Linked DNA regions of Homo sapiens: region 1 is linked to region 2. Evidence: promoter capture Hi-C in 16 types of primary human blood cells and fetal thymus (Javierre and others, 2016). All regions are on one chromosome and are shown on one strand. Each heading gives the region's core, a stretch centred on a gene start or on the middle of the fragment in contact. The rest is flanking DNA. Distances are from core to core; before and after follow the strand shown.

What was found. Contacts are between HindIII fragments. The CHiCAGO score rates a contact against its expected background, and 5 or more counts as called.
Region 1: the fragment with the promoter of YBX1 here is called in contact with the fragment with the promoter of GUCA2A in region 2 in 3 of 17 cell types (endothelial precursors, M2 macrophages and erythroblasts); the score reaches 6.1 in endothelial precursors.

Annotation. Positions count from the first base shown.
Region 1 is chr1:42,680,833-42,688,507 of GRCh38, reverse strand. YBX1 (Y-box binding protein 1) reads right to left here and starts at 6,090. Exons shown (of 8, transcript NM_004559.5): 1 at 5,777-6,090; 2 at 5,042-5,105. The coding sequence starts at 5,942. It also overlaps a transcript of PPIH not described here. RefSeq lists silencers at 5,185-5,334, 5,445-5,554, 5,745-5,944 and an enhancer at 6,385-6,434. The HindIII fragment of the contact is 3,657 bases long and covers 3,999-7,655 here.
Region 2 is chr1:42,161,662-42,168,403 of GRCh38, reverse strand. GUCA2A (guanylate cyclase activator 2A) reads left to right here and starts at 3,659. Exons shown (of 3, transcript NM_033553.3): 1 at 3,659-3,766; 2 at 4,794-5,001; 3 at 5,434-5,714. The coding sequence starts at 3,692. The coding sequence ends at 5,498. RefSeq lists an enhancer at 2,835-3,799. The HindIII fragment of the contact is 7,781 bases long and covers 1-6,742 here.

The DNA of each region.
Region 1 (7,675 bases), core at 4,841-7,340, 520 kb before region 2:
TACAATATTACTACAGTGAATGTCGTGCAGTTATGATTTAATGCTGCCTGAATCTTTATGTTTGTTTACATTTCTCAACTGCAAATGGCTGTATTAACTTTCTAATGCATTTGTGTACATTTTATGGTAGTAAATAATAAAACAGACTAGTATCTACAACATACTCAACTTTTCCTTATTTTGGGGGATACTTCTTGGCTATGTGGTTCATCTGAAGTTTTCAGGTTGTTGCAAATCTCCAAACATTTTTCCAATATATTTATCAAAAAAAATCTGTGTGTAAGTGGACTTGTGTGGTTCAAACTCACATTGTTCACGAGTCAAACTGGATACTAGTTCTCTATCCTAGATTTCAAGAGTAAAGGATTGTACTTTGGGAGGACACAGGGAGTGGGACCTACTAGTATTCTCCAAGTCACGTATCAGTGACTTGGTGAACACGGATGACTTCTTGCCAGCTTAAGATCAATGGTTAATATAACCAGCATACAAATCTCTCCTAATGTCTCCTGCATACATGTCATTGATGTTTGTCTTTAGGGTTCCAGTTTGGAACCTTCGACATCTCTCCCTTAGCAGCACCTGCAGAAAAGTCTTTAAACCTTCCCTAGTGCCAAAACATTTTGTCAGTTATGTTACGGTCTACCCATGACTTATGTGGCTTAGCAATGGATCTACTGTGATCAAGTTAAGATCAGTGTGACTTTAACAGCCCAAGAGATTTTTGGTAATGACATCCTTCCAAAGGTTTACACTTCTATTAAGAACCACACATTTGGGAGGCTGAAGCTGGAAGATCACTTGAGCCCAGGAGTGCAAGACCCATATGGGCAACACAGAGAGACTCCACTTCAAACAACCAACAACCACACAGTAAGTACTTTACACCGCCACCTTTAAAAAAGAAAAAAAAATCACCCTTTAGAGGCCGGGCGCAGTGGCTCACACCTGTAATCCCAGCACTTTGGGAGGCCTAGGCGGGTGGATCACCTGAGGTCAGGAGCTTGAGACCAGCCTGGCCAACATGGAGAAACCCTGTTTCCACTAAAAATACAAAATTAGCCTGTGTGGTGGCGGGCGCCTGTAATCCCAGCTACTCGGGAGGCTGAGGCAGGAGAATCGCTTGAACCTGGGAGGCGGAGTTGCAGTGAGCCAAGATCGTGCCATTGCACTCCAGCCTGGGTGACAAGAGTGAAACTCCATCTCAAGAAAAATCACCCTTTAAAAAGGCAATATTCAGTCTTACCTTGCAGGCCATACAAAAAAAAAAGATTAAGGGAGATAAGGTGCAACATTCTCTCCTTTAATTCTTCACCTCCCAGTATCAGGAATTAAGCAAGTCCTTTTATTTGTATAGCTGACCTACATGCTAAACTAGAACTTTTAACAATCCCAAACTTCACAAAGTAGATAGTGAAAGGCAGAAAACTTTTCAAATCCAGGACCTAGCAAGTCAGCAGACAAGAGCCCCAGTGACATACTTGGATCATTTAAGAGTCTTTCAACGGCTAAAAATAATCACCCTAAGAAATTATCTGTAACTATGTGGACAACAACCAAATTGAAAATGGCTAGGGTCTATTTCAGAGACAGCATAAGAGCAGTTGGTGAACACTAACTCCAGAGTCAAAAAACAGTTCCAATCCTGCCACTTATCACCTATGCTTATGGGGACAAGTAACAACTCCTTTGTGCCTCAGAATGACAGTACCTACGCCTCAAAGGTTTTTAAAGATTAAGTAAATTGGCTCATTTTAAGCACTTACTATAGACCCTAGTATAAATACTTGTTAGCTGTATCTATTTTCACCAACATGTGTTGGAAGTCACCTATCAGTTATGTACATATGGAATCCCCACAAGGGAGCCCCCACCCCAAAGGGAGACTAAACCTGATAGGCGTGACTAAAGAGAGATAGCCAAACCTTTCCCTGGCTTGGTTTATTACATCTTCCTAGACCATGGGTAATAAACTCAAATGCATACACAGAGGCCAGGCGTGAAGGCTGTCGTAAAAAAAGTATACCCCACCTAAATGTGGTGACAATATGGCCAGGTGGTTTTTACTTATGTGGAAATACAGGCCCCCAAAGCCAGCTAAAGTTCAGATCTTAAAAATATAATAATCTGGATTACTTGGTGTTATCTCCTGAATTATAAATGTTAGTAATTAATCCCAATTCCTTTAAAAAATACTGTACTGTCTAATCAAAGCATCTGGGAGTAGTTTTAGCCAGAAGGTCACAAATTTGTGACCTCTGCTCCAAATTCTTTCACCTCAAAACATTAAGAATTATTAATTTAAACATTTTAAGTACTCTGGAAACAGAAAAATATTCCTATTCTGGTCACTATAAACTGTTGCCAATTCATGGTAATCTTTGGTGAATATGGATCAATACTCAACCACTAACAAAATTCAACAGTAATCTGGGGGGAGCTAATAAACCCCTCTAGTCACATTCTCCGATTATGTTTTGTAGACACAGTTCACAAAAGAATAACTCAATGAATTTCTTAGAATTTCTAGATTACACAGTCTAACAAAATAAAGCCAAAACTTCTGCTATTTTTAAAAGCTCTATGCTCATGTTACTTAGCACCTTCTTCACAATATAACCATCAGGGAGAAGCCCTTTCATGAATTAATTCTAACAAGGTTGTAACAATTCATCAGGTGGTAATTCAGGCTGGAATAAACACATTTACAATGAAATTATGTCTTTAAAGGCAGAAAATTTACATACAATATTGTAATTATAAAAATTCCTTACAATCCTAGCATATATAATCCAGCGCATCCAAAAACCCCAATTAAAAGTCGTCACAATAGTCATCCCGAACACTGCACCCTCTCCTTTATACAGAAAACAGCACGTTATGTGTCAGTCTGTCTCCCTCCCTCATAAGAGACAGGTGCCTCCAGCCAAGTCTATTTGTTCCACTACACGAACTACATATAGAACCAACTGCTAGCTTCCAAAGTGATTTCTTTTATCACATACATTTTCCTTAATTAAAGCAAATCTTCCCTGTATTTAATTGGAGTCAGATTTTACAGCATCTTATTAAAAAAGTCCCAGAATCATTAAAACCAGTTCAGAAGCATAAAGAACATTTTAACCAGTTAATTTGACAAAATAATTGAGGTTAGGATAGTCCAAACAAAGGACCATCAAAAGCCAATTCATAACTTGCCCTGGAGGATGACCAATTGAGTTGATTCCAATTCAGAATAGAGATATTCAATGAACAGTATCTCATGGACTAAATACTTAAAAAATGTAAAGATATTACTCTTATTCTGGACAAAACTGTTGATTTCAAAAAATGTCATAACCTATGCCTACTTAAAAAAAATGCAGCGAAACAAGGCACATGCTAAAACTTCTTCAACACATACAAAACCTGCAATCTATCCGCTGAAAAGGCTGCAAATTTGCACACCAGAGTTACCATTACATTGGGTCAAGGGTTAAAAGCAGTGATTTTGAAGGTATGGCCCGAAGACCATTATCATTCCTGTTAAAAATGTACCCAGACCTAATGAATCCAAGGCTCAGAAGGAGGAACTCACCACTTACATCACACCCTCCCAAGGTAAGCACACTTAAATTTGAAAACCACTGGTTTAAGGGTTAGACTAGTAACGATAATCAGAGTAAGACAGAAATACAAACTAAAACACTAGAAAGTTCAGAGAGATCAGTTAAAAAGCTATCAGTATGCCAATTATATATAAGCATTCCCTTCCTTCTTGCTAGTAAGCCATTATCAAAAAATTAATGAAAAACGTAGTTTCGGCCAGCCAGGAAAGCAAACAGTATATAACAAGATGGAAAATCCTAAGATTTTGGAAGAAACAAAATATTTTCCCACAATTGCAAAAGTAGAGAATAGATCACCAAATGCTTATCTCTTACTCTGAGTGTTTCCACAATACTCTATGATTGATTAATGAACAGTTTTTCATCAGGCAATGATTCTGTCCTTAAGCTTGATTTTGCCCATTTGTTGTCCATTCCACATTGTTCTTTTAATCATCTGCTTAGGTCTTCTACAGTAAGCAAGCAAGACAATGCTGAGATGGCACTAAGTACCATACCTGTGAGGCCAAGATTGCTACTGGCATACCCAGTGCTCTGCACCCATGTAACTAGCACTACTAGCCTTGGCAGCCATCTTGAAAATGATGCCCGGCTTACAAGGGAGCCCATGGAATACAGTGCGTCTACTGCACGTTACCACCACCACTCCTACAAACAACCCGAAGGGTAAGTCCTAAAGACGTGTCTGCAGCTTTGCCTTCAAACAGGAAGAAAAATGTCAAGTTACCAGTGACTATGGCCACTCTAATAAGCTACAGCCAGGGATCTAACAGAAATCGACTTAACCAGTTATGATTCTAGGACAAGGAAGAATGAAAAATAAGAACGGAAGAAGGAAAAAAAACCACTTTCTTGTAAATATATTATTTACTGGATGAGCAAATAAAAACAGTTCTCTCTGGTCAAAGCTGTGCTAAGACAAAATTTATCTCAGGTATTAAAATGAAACGTGAAACAAAGGCAATACAACCTCTCGGTAAAGATGACAAAACCTCATATAGTCAAATCCTCTTACCCTAAAACGTTAACAATGTATAAATATCCGATGTCAGTGGATCACATTCTCAAATACCGAGTTCAATAAAGTAGAAAAAGATGACAAGGATAAAAATGTACTGGACCGTAGTTTCCCGTTTACCCTGTTAAGGAATGGCTCATTCACTCCGCTTGCCTTTTGAATTGCTTTGTACTGTGACGAAGCCTTTTAAGTTAGCTTCAAATTAATATTTAGCTGCAAAACAAAGGCATTCTCTAGATCCACTAATCCCTAATCAAGGAAAACAACAACAACAAAAAATCATACTAATACACCAGAGGTAGTAAACGCCTTTCAGAACAGAGCTGTGGATTGGGGCTTCCCAAGCCCCGAGAAGCCGACAGAGCAGGAAGCAAGCAAGAAGGTGGGATGGAGGCTTCAGAGCCCGGCAGCTCACCTGTTGATGAAACCATATCCGTTCCTTACATTGAACCATTTTACTGTTCCCAAAACCTTCGTTGCTGGAAAAGAAAACAAAGCAAAACAAGCCACGATTACCAGCTATCCTTTTCCAAATCCGCCCGGCTTGGGCATCCGGTCCCTCGCACGCCGGCCGCCGCGGCCACCTGACAGCCCTTTCTCTCCACCGCCCGGGTGCGGGGCCACGCAGTCGCCGCCGCCGCCGCACACGTGGGTGAGTCTGAAGCGCGGGGCGCTCCAGGGCAGGCCCGGGGCGCGGGCCCCAGGATGGGTGTGTGCGCAGGCCGCGGACGGAGAGCACGTGAGGGAAGGGGAAGCCGCTCCGGCCTGCGTAGGCGGTGCGCCGCGCCCTCCGAGCACACGCGGAAGGGAGCTGGGTGGGGGTGACGCGAACAACGGCGTGCGGGCCCGAGCGCACGAGGCCGGTCGGCGGGGAGGGGACCCCGTCGCACACGCGGTCGGCGGCGCGCGGCCGCAGGGGGAGGGGCGCGCGGCCGCGCGGGGTCCACAGGGGGCGCGGGAGGCAGTGCGCGCGCGCCTGCCGGGCGGGTCCCCGCGAGAGGGAGTGAGGGGGGGACGGGGGGGATGGGCGGCCGCGCGCCGCGGAGTCGGTGCCCACCGGCCGCGCGCCCGCCGGCTCGCCCAGCTCCGGCTAACGGTTCCGCTGCTGGGCTGCCCGAGGGCCCCACCCCCGTCCCTGTCCGGTCCTCACCGATGACCTTCTTGTCCCCGCCGGCAGGCGCCGCCGATGTGAGGCCGCCCGGGCCACCGCTCCCTGCGCCGCTGCCCGTAGTGCCGGGCTTGGTGTCGGCGGCGCTGAGGGCGGGGGCGGCGGGGGGGGCGGCGGGCGGCTGCTGGGTCTCGGCCTCGCTGCTCATGGTTGCGGTGATGGTGACTGGGGCCGGCTGCGGCAGCTGCGGCTCCTCCCGGGGTGTGATGGTAACTAGGCCGGCGGCGGCGGTGGGGCTGCTCAGGGCTCTCTGGGGTCCGCTCTCCGCTCCCGCTACCGATCGAACTAGCGAGAATGGCGGGACAGGCGGGATAAGCCCTACGAGCGACCCGCCCTAGGCGTTGTTCACTGGCCAGTGGTACTGTCAATCTGCCCACCTGACCCCAATCCCTAGCTTCTATTGGCTAATATTTTATCAGTCCTCCATTCTCATTGGACCTTTGGCGGCTAATTCAGTCGACCTACAACCGTTCCTGCCTCCGCCGGCCGCCATAGAGACCGGAACTAGAATTAGAGTAGTCGGCCACGAAAACCATAGAGTACCCGAGAGGACGGGCAGAAGGAACGTGACTTCCACGAGGCAGCCGCCGGGCTGGCGGGCCCCACGTTCAGGGTTGTGTCTCGGCTGAAAAAAAGGCACGCCCGAACGCTGGGCAGGGATTACCCGGCCGGACCCGGGATTGGAAGGGGGCTCGAAGACGCCTTAGCCCCCCGTGAAGAAAAGGCTTCCCTCCCTCCCAGCTCCAAATACGGTCCCTGTGATCTGAGAACATTACGGCGGGCATAGAGTCGTCTTTTCTTTAATGGCCGTGTAGTCGCGGCACAGCCGAGGGTTTCTGGAATTGCCTTAAACGTATGCGTTTGAAGAGCGTACCCTTTTGTCGGAGCAGTCACCTTGGAGGGACCACGCAGGCTATGGCAGCCCGGGTTCAGCATGTTTAGGGCGAGGGTGTGCTCCATGGGGACCTGCCTTCTGATCCGTTTTACCAGGCATATATTTAAAAAAATGTGTCTTCCTTTCCAAGTATTCACATCTTTTTCTACTGACCACAAATCAGATTTAATTCAACTCACATTTATTGAACAAGCTAGCCTGTTTTGTTTTTTCACTTTATTCCTGCAACAGCCACGTGATAGAGGGATTACTATCCACGTTTCACAAACGATAAAATTGAGGCTGCCACCTGATGTTACTGAAGTCCTCCACCCACCTTCTTTCGTTCTTTTTTAAGCGTCTACTATCGGCTGGGGATGGAATAGTTCGCGAGTCAGTTTCTGCCTTCTGATGGAGGCAGAAATTTAAACAGCCAACACGGTAAATACTCCAGAGCTGCAAAACCACGAAGTATTTTGGGAGTGGAAGCAGGGAGAAGGTGGAGGGCTGACTTTCCGCGCACAGGGTACAGGCGAGAAGAGGTGAGATCTCGGGAAATGCAGTCAAGTAGTTCAGTAAGACTCGAATGTGACATTGGGTTGCAGAGGTGGGCAGTCACTTAGGTATATTTAATTGGAAATATATCCTGAGGGGAAGAGTGAGAAGAGCAATTTTAGAGTCATAAGTAGGGAGGGGCATCTTTTTAAAAATGGCTGCGGAGTGGAGAATGGGTTGCAGAGGGGCAAGGAATGGAAGTAGAGAAAGCAGTTAGGAGGCTAATGCAGTATTCCTTACCCCTACCAATGCCGTCTAGGCCTGTGAGTTCCACCTCCTAAAGGCGTTCTTGAGTCAGTCCTAAACCCTCTAAATGTCAATTCAGAGTCTTTTCATTCCTACTGTCACTACTGTAGGCCATCATCACCAATTGCTTAGAGCAAGGGGTAGGAACCTTTTTCTGTGAGAGCCAAATAGTTAATAATATAAGCTTGGCCGACCATATGGTTCTG
Region 2 (6,742 bases), core at 2,410-4,909:
GCAGGCAAGCCTTGGCCAGGGGGGCTGTGGGAGAAAGAGGCTCAGGGATGAAAGCCCCTGCCCTTTACCCCCATTCCTGCCACAGCTTGGGAGGGGAAAGACCAAAATGAGTCAGAAAAAACAGGTCCTCAGCCTGGTGGCCCCACCTAAGCCCCATCCTTAACTGAAAGTCAAATCCCAACCCAGCTGTAGCGTCACACTTAAGCCAGACCCACCCCCATCATAAACCTAACCCAGTCACACCTCCAATCTCTGCTGCAAACTCAACTCCAATCCCAGTCCTGCCAATGAGCCCTAACCTAGCCCAAACCAGCCTCCACGTCAGTTACAAGCACCACATCAGTTCAATCTGGACTGCGCCCTCGGCTCCACACCTAACTCTAATTTACCCCTGCCCAACCTCAGCTCCATCTCAACCTGACCCTAATCCAAACCAACTTTAGTGTCGCCCGAATTGACCCCAATCCCAACCCCGCTCCGGTCTCCGCAAGCCCCGGCTCCAGTCTAGCATGGAGCTCAGCCGCACTCCCGAACTTCTCCCGGTGTTCATCCCCACCCCAGCCTCCGAAACTCCTGCCCCTCACCTTTCCCCCAGCTCCATCCCCCGACATCCTGTTGCTCAGCATCCAAGTCCCACGCCCCGACCCTCAGCCCCATTCCTTCCCCTAACCCCACTCACTCCCACGCCCACTCCCACCTGCCCTCAGCGAGGGGACCAGTGTGTGGCTGACCTTGGTGGGCACACACACATGTCCAGGCACGCACACACACCTCAGTGTATACACACACGTCAGCACACACACACGTCAGTGCACACACACACGTCAGCACTCACACACACCTCAGTGTATACACACACGTCAGCACTCACGCACACCTCAGTGTATACACACACTTCAGCACACACGCACCTCAGTGTATACACACACGTCAGCACACACACACCTCAGCACACACACAGTGTATACACACGTCAGCACACACACCTCAGTGTATACACACACGTCAGCGCACACACACCTCAGTGTATACACACACGTCAGCACTCACACACCTCAGCACATACACGCACCTCAGTGTATACACACATGTCAGCACACACACACCTCAGCACACACACGCACCTCAGTGTATACACACACATCAGCGCACACATACCTCAGCACACACACGCTCCTCAGTGTATACACACATGTCAGCACTCACACACACCTCAGTGTATACACACACATCAGCACACACACAGCTCAGCACACACACACACCTCAGCACACACACAGTGTATACACACGTCAGCACACACACCTCAGTGTATACACACACGTCAGCGCACACACACCTCAGTGTATACACACACGTCAGCACTCACACACCTCAGCACATACACGCACCTCAGTGTATACACACATGTCAGCACACACACACCTCAGCACACACACGCACCTCAGTGTATACACACACATCAGCGCACACATACCTCAGCACACACACGCTCCTCAGTGTATACACACACATCAGCACTCACACACACCTCAGTGTATACACACACATCAGCACACACACAGCTCAGCACACACACACACCTCAGCACACACACACACCTCAGTGTATACACACACGTCAGCACACACACACCTCAGCACACATACGCACCTCAGCACACATACGCACCTCAGTGTATACACACACGTCAGCACTCACACACGTCAGCACACACACACCTCAGCGCATACATGCACCTCAGTGTATACACACACCTCGGCACACACACGCACAACACAGCAGATGCACTCAGCTCAGCATACACACACACACCTCAGTGCACATACACACACATATCTCAGTGCATATACACACATGAGCATACACACACACATACCTCAGTGCACATACACACACCCCAGCAGACACCCCAGCAGACACACATCCCAGCAAACACACACACCTCGGTGTACACACACGCGCCTGTGTATATACACACTGACACACACACACCTCGATGTATATATGCACACCTCCTTGCACAGACACAGATACCTTGGTGTACACGGACACACATATACCCCTCAGCATACACACACATACACCTCAGCATATATACACATACACTCCTCAGTGTACACACATGCCTCAGCACACACACACCTTCAGCACAAGCACACATACAAACACACCTTGGCTACACACACCCATCAGGGTATATACAGACACCTTGGCATACACAGACATACACATCTCCGCAGACACACCCCCCCTTAACACACACACACACACACACACACACACACTCACCAGAAAGGGGTGGGAAATCCAGTGCAGCTGTGAGGACTGCCCTGGGAGCTGGGCCAGGAGCTACCTGCCCCTCCCTGAGGGCCTTGTCCCTGCAGTTCCCTCCTGGTCAGGCCCTGCTCTCTCCAATTCCCTCTTCAGTGTTGACTCTCCCCACCCAGGAATTCCTGCCCAACCTCCCGCCCTAGGGCTGTCCTGGCATCGGGCCAGGTTGGCTGAGTAGAAAGATGACAATCCCAGGGCTACCCTTTCTCCTGTGTCCTGGGGATTCCTGCTCACAACAGCACACAGTGAATGCACGCTGCCCTGAGGGCGCAGTCTGAATGGGGTCAGAGTCTATAGGGGCGCGGGCACACCCAAGCAATTCCCCAGTGAGATCCGCGGAAAGGGGACTGTATCTGCAGGGGCAAGGGGGGCGGGCGGATTGGGGAGGAGCTCATTCGAGGACACCCTGAGGCTGCAGGGCAGGCAGGACAGGATGGGGACCAGCACAGGATGGGGACAGCCTGTGACTCAGACAGGCAGGAGGTCACCAGAGGGGCCAGGGAGGACCAGGAGCTGCTGTGGCTGCTAATAATATGGGAATGGACCTCTGCTGAGCACCTTCTGTGTGCCAGGCATTGAGCTAAATGTTTTTAAAACCTCACTTGATTCTCCAAACAGTAATGCCTACCACACACCTACCCCATGAGGTAGGTATTATTTTTGGTTCCCACAGGGGACACAAGGGACAACGAGACTCAGAGAGGGGAAAGCATTGGCCCAAGTTCACACGCCTCACAACTGGGCAGTAGGTGGAACGGAACCCAGGCTGTGCGGAGGGCTTCCTTGAGGTCGCGGCAATCAAACCCAGACCCTGACTTGCCCTGCAGCCTCCCCCGTGGAATTTCTCACATTTCCCTGAATATTCCAGGCCCGTCTCACCTCCTGGCTGTCCCTTTGGCATGAAATGGCCTTCTGTCCTCAGTCCCTTCTCTGGGAAAACTTCCACCCATTCTCCAGAGCTCAGCCCCCAGTGCAGCCCCGTCACCTCATCCTAGGATCACCCCACCCTAATCGCCCTGCGTTTCACTGTCGGGCTGGGCCCCCCTCCTCAAGGGCAGGGTCTGCCGGCCCCACACAGCAGCACAGGGCAGTCGTGAGTGAATGTGCCTTGTTGGTGAATGAATGCAGGACCCAGCCCGGCTGTGGGTCAAAGTAGGTGCTCAGGGAGGGGCCGGGGCCCCCCCTGCCTGGCTCTTATCTCCTAGGGCTGTCTCGAGCCTTATCTGATAAGGCCTGACAGGTGAGCAGATGAGACTGACAGAGGCTTCCAGGTTACTCAGTAACCTGCCCTCTTTAAAAGTCCCGCCGCTTCCCCCTGGCATCCAGAACAGCCACCCCTCTCTCGGGCACTGCTGCCATGAATGCCTTCCTGCTCTCCGCACTGTGCCTCCTTGGGGCCTGGGCCGCCTTGGCAGGAGGGGTCACCGTGCAGGTGAGTCCTGTGTCCCTACCCCGGCCCAGCTGGCTCCCTGCCCCTAGTGCCCAGGTCTGGTCCCCTGAGAGAGTACCTCCTCTTTGGGGCTGGATTGAGGGTGTGTGTCCCAGGCTTGGCCTTCTTCGAGGAGCTCCTGCTCAGTCCAGCCACACACACACCTTTCCCTTCAACTTTGGAGGAGAAAGAAACCCAGTGGAGGGAAGAGGAATAACCATATGGGGAAGGCGGGGAGTTGGCCAATTTACTGAGTGTCCTATGTGCCGGCTCCTTCCCCAGCCCCTCACTGTGGCTCCACTATCAACCTGGAAGAAAGGGATCATTAGTCCCATTTTACAGAGGGGAAAACTGAGCCTCACAAAGGTTCTGTAACAGGCCATGGGCACATGGCTGTGGGAAGTGCAGGAGCTGGATTTAAATCCAGACCTTACTCCTCAGTGGGTCCCAGGAACCACATGGACACCCTGGAGGTCCTGACAGATGGGTATGCCTACCAGTGCCAATGCTGGCGACAGGCCAAGCTGGCACCTAGCGGGGGCCCTGATCTCTATCAAAGCCAGATTCCGGGAGGCCTTTTATTGCTTCTCAAACCAAAACCAGGCTGCAGGCTGGAGCTGGGGGCCCAGTAATCAGCCGCACCGCTCTCAGGCAGGGGAAAGACAGCCTGGGCTTGGCCACGTGGAACTACGATGCCTGGGTGCTGGTCCTTTGCCTCTCCCTAAAAATCAGCACACTGGCTCCTACTCATTAGGCACCTATGGTGTTCCTGGAGCTTCACACCCATTTTCTCCATTCCCCATACAACATGCAGAATTTGCGGGTTCCAGAGTGTCCAGCATCACGGAGCCAAGCCAGGACGTGGGGCCTGAACTCTGCCCCTCACAGTGCCCCACTGTGGATCGCCTGGCTCCCATATGCCACGAACACTGCCTGTGAGCACCACTGGGCTGGACCGGGGCCAGCACGGGGGGCACAGCCAGGAAGCAGGCTGCAGCCTGGCCTCATGCTCTGGGCTTCTCTCTTCCAGGATGGAAATTTCTCCTTTTCTCTGGAGTCAGTGAAGAAGCTCAAAGACCTCCAGGAGCCCCAGGAGCCCAGGGTTGGGAAACTCAGGAACTTTGCACCCATCCCTGGTGAACCTGTGGTTCCCATCCTCTGTAGCAACCCGAACTTTCCAGAAGAACTCAAGCCTCTCTGCAAGGAGCCCAATGCCCAGGAGATACTTCAGAGGCTGGGTGAGCAGCCTCCTTCCTCTCTGATTGGTGGGGTTCGGGAATACTGTGGTGGCACTTGAGGAAGAGATGTGCTCTGATTGGTGGGATTTGGAGGAAGGGCTCAGCTCTGACTGGTGGAACTAGGGAGCTTGGCTCTGATTGGTGGGTCTGTTCCATGCCCACTTCAATTCCAAGTTGTAACTGCTGAGGTTTGGGAACTAAGACCATTCATCTGGTCTTAGTTTCCTCTCTTTCTGGTGGAATCTCTGCTTTGATTGGTTGGTTTGAGTGGTCTGTGTGCCCTGGTTTGGGGCGAAAAGCCCAGTAGGTCAGAGTACGGGCCTGCTGAGATTCTCCTGGGGCTGGGTGGTGACGTACAAGCTCTGGGCCAAGGGCGGCAGGGGCCTCGCGAGGAAATGCTGGTTCTCACGAGGCTCCATCTCTGTTGTGCAGAGGAAATCGCTGAGGACCCGGGCACATGTGAAATCTGTGCCTACGCTGCCTGTACCGGATGCTAGGGGGGCTTGCCCACTGCCTGCCTCCCCTCCGCAGCAGGGAAGCTCTTTTCTCCTGCAGAAAGGGCCACCCATGATACTCCACTCCCAGCAGCTCAACCTACCCTGGTCCAGTCGGGAGGAGCAGCCCGGGGAGGAACTGGGTGACTGGAGGCCTCGCCCCAACACTGTCCTTCCCTGCCACTTCAACCCCCAGCTAATAAACCAGATTCCAGAGTACTCTGGGTGTTGCCTTCCTTCCTTCCTTCATCCCCTAGTCTATCCTGCCCTGGAAGCTCGGGATGTAATGTACTAAGCGAAGGACCCCACTCTCCCTGCTAAGCTGCTCACTGTCCCTGGGGCTGCCACAACACAGAGGCGTGGAGAGGATCTGGATCTCCAAACCACCAAGGCAGCGGGTGGTGGGGAGGGTTTGCTTTTATTTCACATCTCCTGAGGTCACCAAGTTCACTGAGCCACATGTGAGCACGGGAGCCAGTCTGAGCTGGTTTGGACAACCAATACAGGCACTTGGCCCACTAGAAGACTGGCACCAAACTCTTGGGTATTCAAGGACTTGGCTCCCACCAGCCATGCTAGTGTGGCCTCCAGCCCTGACCACATCCCAAACCACACCTCTTGCCATTTCCTCTGCTGCTGCTCACCTCTCCACTGCCCGTCTTCCCACACTACTGTCCAGGCAAACTCCTACTCAGGGTCCAAGGCTTTCATTCCACGGCCTCTCCTCAAGACAACTTGCTCAACCCCCCAGGAAGAGTCTCAGTGCTCCCATTGTGACCTTGACCTTGGTGCTTTCTGGGCACTGTGATCACCCACAACCCTTGCACAGCTGTGGCCACCCTGTTGTGTAATGGCTTCTGTGCCTGGGGAAGTCTCTCTGACCTCCAGACCCACATGGATAATTGCATGAGGATATAAAACAGGGCAGGGGCCCAGCCACAGCTTTTCCAAGTACTGTGTGATCTTTGGAAAGTCACCTTCCCTCTCTGTGCCTCCACCTCTTCCTCTATAAAACTGGGACACTAATATTTCCTGCCTCCCAGGCTGGGTGAAATAATGCATATAAAGCCCTCAGTTCAGGCCTGACACAAACGTAAGAGGAATTCAATAAGTGGTAAAACAAACTAGAGAAAAGGGGACCAGGATCAGGCTGAAAGTGGTTCAGACAGGGTGAGGAGGCAGGGTGTGGAAGTGAGGCCTATTAGCAAAGGTAGAGGGAACAAAAAAAAGAGGAGGCAGAACTCCCA